Regions from separate parts of the Homo sapiens genome. Here region 2 is linked to region 1. The links are contacts of gene promoters, found by promoter capture Hi-C in blood cells and fetal thymus (Javierre and others, 2016). All regions are on one chromosome and are shown on one strand. Each heading gives the region's core, a stretch centred on a gene start or on the middle of the fragment in contact. The rest is flanking DNA. Distances are from core to core; before and after follow the strand shown.

Region 1 (2,660 bases), core at 96-2,595:
CTTATAAAGACTCCTGTATCATGGAAAACTTACATGAAATAAATTTGTATGTTTTTCTTTTGCTAATCTGTCTTTTGTTGCAACAGAGGCCTTGGCGATGAATCCAGGGTGGGTGAGAAAAAGATATTTTTCCTCCCCTACAATATGCTTATAAACATATGTAGCAGTAAACCTATTTCTAGGTAGGTAGCATCCTGTGAAAGCACCAATGAAATAATATAGAATTTGTTTTGATTTTGGCATTCAGTCATACCTAGAGAATATCGTAAGTAGATGCAAAGGGATGACAACCAGTATCTACAATGAACTACGACCATCATCATAATAGCGGCGATTGACATTTATTGAGTACTTATGCTAATTCTTGGTAGATATGATCTTATTTGATCCTCAGAGCAATTCTATGAAATAAATAGGATGAACAACTACATTCAACAGAAGAGGAAATTGACACTGGGTATTAACCCAGGATCGTGCCTGCCAGGAAAGAGTGGAGCTAGAATGTGAACCCAGGCAGTCTGAGTCCACAGCTTACCCTCTCAACCACTAGTCTGTAGTGTTTATTCCAGCTCGAGAGTGCATCTAGAGTGGTGACTATTTAAGTTTTTGAATAACAAAATGACAAAATCAGTTCTGTTTGTGGCAGGAAAAAAAAGTGACCCTGAAGAAATACATTTATTTGAAATATATATGACTATCTCCTTACCATAAATTAATTTCATTGTTTTCATTCTCATGACATGTCACTATGTATTTACAATTTAAAAAATCAGTTTTGCCACGTTACTAAATTTGGGACAATCATAAAATGTAATAGACAGTACTCTGAGAATAAGAAAAGTTTATTTCCTGGGGTGACTTTCATAGTCACTAAACACAGAACAACTTGCACATTTCAATATTTCCTCCTGACAGTACAGATACTGTCTCTATTGTCACTATTACACTGACTCTAATATCAGTTTTCGTATATCATTTCTATAGTTGTATAAGAACATCTGCTCATATGATTTATCTGCAGCTTAGCACAATCAACTGCATACCTTTTTAGTTCAGGAGGATTAAAAGAAAACTCATTCTACCCAAAGAGAGCTGAGAAGTTAATGAATCTGTAGATCAGAACAAATTAAAACCTATTAATTATAAGGAGTCTGAAATGCCAATATATTATATTTTGAATACACAGCAACCAGGAATATCATGCAAAAACGCTGATATGCTGTGGAGCAAAGAAATGGAACAGATCCCAGAAACTCAGGACCTCGGCCTTTTGGTGGCGCTGTTGCTATGTGCTAGTGCCAGGAAAACAGTATTCATATATAATTAACTACCACGGAGCACAAGCAGCTTTGCTTTTCCATGATCAAGCTGCTAGAGATTTTGGGGTGAGGGAGCGAAATGAAGGCTAAATAAAAGAACCGGAGATAAGATAATCCTGCCATGTTAAAAGGTAAAGATAATATTTTTATGTTGTTATGTAAAACCTATGAAAATGGCGATAATGTTGCAAGGTTAATCAAGACCATAAATAACTTGTCTGAGAACCTCACCATATGCCTGCAGTTTTATTAAGTGTATTTTGCCTCGTTATTCTCCGAATATTATGCTCTGCAACATGCCATGTTGATGGATGCATGCAATGAGCTTTTCTTTTCTTTTTTGTAAGCTAAAGAGACTTATGTGCTTGATATTAGGTATGGGAATTCTTTTTTTTTTTTTTAAGAGATGGGGTCTCATTGTGTTACCCACACTGGCCTTGAATTCCTGGGCTAAAATCCTCCTGCCTTAGCCTCCCAATTAGCTGGGAATACAGACCTGTGCCACCATGCCCCCGTTCAGGTTATGTTAATTATTAACCTGAAGGAATGACAGCTTTGGGGCATCTGCTCACAGGGTAGCTGCACAATAAACCTACTTTTCTTGAATCTACATTTGAGGAGAGACAGTGAAATGAAATATTGAAATAATGAGATAATGAAGGAGTTTATTTGGAAGGATCTGAGGGAGTCAGTCTGTATGCTGATGGTTAAACTCACATCAAAACAAACACTACAGAATCTCTGCTTACTCTTTCAGGTCTCAGTCGTCATAAAAAGGGAAAATGTCCTAGAAATTCTGTTCTGATCACTCAAGTGGCCCTTTGAGGAGAATAACCTTGGGGAAACAGCAGTTGACAGTCAGTGTGAGCTTACTCTGCTAAGCACCAGGCACATGCATTTCATGTACTCATTCGATTTGCATAATGCCAATATTAGGAAGGTTCTTTTATTATTTCCATTTCAAAGATGATCATGTCCATAAATGGCAGAGCTGGAATTTGAGCCCAGGTTGACTGATCTAGAGTTTATATTTGTTTGGGCATCCCATGAAGCAGTGTCCATTGATAGCTGTTCCTGTTCCTTAAAAAAAGAAAACACACACACACACACACAACATGGCTTTATGCTATTGTCAATCAAAATCCCTCACCAAGATAAAATTCACTTAAAATTCATTATAACTAACTCCTAGTGCCCTTCCAAAGGCTGCCGAGAGCCCAGTTTTTGAATAAATCTCACGAGGGCTACTCCTAACAGAAACTCTCCAAAATTGATTGATTGTAGCCTGGTTTCCACAGAAGTTGTAAAGTATTGTTTTAATTGAATTTGGTTCTAAGTTAG
Region 2 (2,660 bases), core at 69-2,568, 750 kb after region 1:
ATTTTTATTATGAAAGTCCGACTCCCTCCTTTAAGAAGACAAAGGATGGAGTGGTGTATTTTATAAGGAAATGCTCGCTGTTTCTTCCTTCCCTCTAATCACTGCTGCCCTTCCACAGGTAACCAAGGGCAGTAGCTGGGTGTGGATTGCCAGCCTATACATTTCCTTTTCCCCACTTCCCTACATCCAACCCATCTCAAAGCTCTTTAATTCTATCTTTAAAATGTTTTTCAAAGCAGTGCATTTCTTTCCTTCTTTCCTAGTCATTGTCACCCATTAGGTGTATTTATTTCCTAGGGCTGCTGGAAGGAAGCACCACAAATTGGGTGACTTAAAGCAACAGGATTATATTATCTCACCATTCTGGAGGCTAGAAATCTGAAAATCAAATGGTCAGTAGGGCCAGGCTCCCTCTGAAACCTGCAAGGGTGTCCTTCCTTGCCTCTTCCTGGCTTCTGGAGGTCTCTGGCCTTACTTGGCCTTACTTGGCTTGCAGCTGCAGCACGCCACACTCTGCCTTTATGCCATCTGGGGTTGTCCCTGTGTGCCTGTCTTCACATGCCTGCCTTTTTATAAGGACACCAGGCATTTGTTGGACCCTACTCCAGTATGACCTCATCTTAACAAATTATATCTGTAATGGACCCTATTTCCAAATAAGGTCACATTCCAAGGAGTAGGGGGTTAGGGCTTCAACACATTTTGGCGGGGGAGGAGGGGACACAATCGAACCCATAGCACAAGGCTACAGTGGACTAGCCTCTTACTTTCTCAGAGTAGAACCTGCCCAGCAGCCAGAAGAGTTCCTTCAATTTCATGGAGATCCAGGCACTCTTCTCCTTAAAACCCACCCTTACAAGGCTTCCGTTGTACCTAAGGTAAAATCCAAGCTCCTGATACAGTTGACAAGGCTTTTTTATCTGGATCCCGCTCAGCTGTGCTGCTCAAAGCCTTTACCTGTAGCCCCTCTCCCTTCATTCAGCCCCCTCGCCCTCCTCCCTCACGCTCCTCATTCTTTGCTGAGTTAGCCCTGCTCCTCCATCACATCATATTTTGAATGCTTCTCCTTCCTGGTGGCCTTCCCTGACCCCTCCAAAATCTTGGCCGTATGTACGCAGCCTTTTTTTCCTCTCTCACTCTCCTACGTGCTTATCTCACCTGTACTGATGTCATCCTCAGGGCATTTGTTTAATGTCTGTCTTAAACAAGTGTTGACGAACTAGGGCTAATGGGCCAAATTTGGCCTGTGGTCTATTTTTGAAAGACCCTTGATATGAGAATGGTTTTTTATATTTTTTAGTGTTGTTAAAAACAAGCATACAAAAAATACAAAGAAAATATGCTTCAGAGACTGCAAGTGGCCTGCAAAGCCTTAAATATTTATGCTCTGGCTCTTTATAGAAATGTGTGATGATCCCTGGTCTTACCTACTATCAACTCCCTGGGAGCCAGAATCTTGTCTGTTTTATTTGCTGCTGTGTCTGGAAAATCTTGCAAGGGGTCTGGCACTTACTAAGATCCTTGCTAGATATACAGTTGTGAAGTGAATGAGTTATTCAATGAATGGTTGGTTCTCAGTGACTGTTGATTTAGGAGAAACCAATCTTTTCGTAACAGCCAGAGAGACTTCTCTGGTAGTATGTATGGATTTTGATAATCTGGCAATTCAGTCATTTAATAAATAGTGAGGACCAGTGACATTTTAGACATTAGTTGAGTAACCAGGGAGGGAGACTGAGCTCTTCTCTTGGGAAACTCATCTGAAGAAGAGATGCAAAATGTGATGAAGGGATTTAACCAGGGCATCACTTGTGAAAGAGAAATTTAAACAGTGTATTCCTGGAGGCTGGGTGTGATGGTTCACACCTGTAATCCCAGCACTTTGGGAGGCCAAGGAGGGTGGATCATGAGGTCAGAAGTTCGAGACCAGCCTGGCCAATATGGTGAAACCCCATCTCTACTAAAAATACAAAAATTGGCTGGGCATGGTGGCTCACGCCTGTAATCCCAGCACTTTGGGAGGCCAAGGTGGGTAGATCATGAGGTCAGGAGTTTGAGACCAGCCTGCCCAATATGGTGAAACCCCATCTCTACTAAAAATACAAAAATTAGCTGGGCATGGTGGCATGCATCTGTAGTCCCAGTTACTTGGGAGGCTGAGGCCAAAGAATCGCTTGAACCCAGGAGGCACAGGTTGCAGTGAGTCAAGATTGCTCCAAGGCACTCCAGCCTGGGCAACAGAGTGAGACTCCGTCTCAAACAAACAAACAAACAAAAAACAAGTGGATTTCTGAAGGTTCAGTTCCTCCTTGGTGGTAGGGAAGAGAAGAAGGGGATGCTGTCATCTAATTTTATATTATCAATACACAAACACTGTTCTCCTAGAGACAAATTTTCCCCAGATGGGCTGGTTGTTGCTTTGCCTCTGGTCCAAACAGGACCATCTCTCATGAGTCATTCTCACTTTGTTGCCCTCAAAGTGCAGGTAGTTGTGGAAAAAAACAAAACTTTAAGCATCCTCAACTCCAGCCTAAATGAGAAAGCTGTTGTCCTGTGCAGCCTATGGAAACTCTTGAGGAATGAACCAGAGACCGCGTCCCTTAGTAGACAGCTGAGCAGCCCTTCCTTATCCAACCACCATCTTTCACCACAAGGCATGT

Evidence for each region. Contacts are between HindIII fragments. The CHiCAGO score rates a contact against its expected background, and 5 or more counts as called.
Region 2: a contact is called between a fragment that was not itself captured here and the fragment with the promoter of CFAP20DC-AS1 in region 1, in 1 of 17 cell types (naive B cells). The highest score is 5.1, in naive B cells.

The regions. Positions count from the first base shown.
Region 1 is chr3:58,823,126-58,825,785 of GRCh38, forward strand. CFAP20DC-AS1 (CFAP20DC antisense RNA 1) reads left to right here and starts at 1,346. Exons shown (of 3, transcript NR_110820.1): 1 at 1,346-1,450. All of the region lies in intron 14 of CFAP20DC (CFAP20 domain containing), which reads right to left. The HindIII fragment of the contact is 7,858 bases long and covers 1-2,660 here.
Region 2 is chr3:59,569,522-59,572,181 of GRCh38, forward strand. The region is part of intron 6 of CFAP20DC-DT (CFAP20DC divergent transcript); the gene reads left to right. Among named protein-coding and RNA genes, the nearest start is that of CFAP20DC-DT, 480 kb to the left of the region's middle. The HindIII fragment of the contact is 3,038 bases long and covers 1-2,660 here.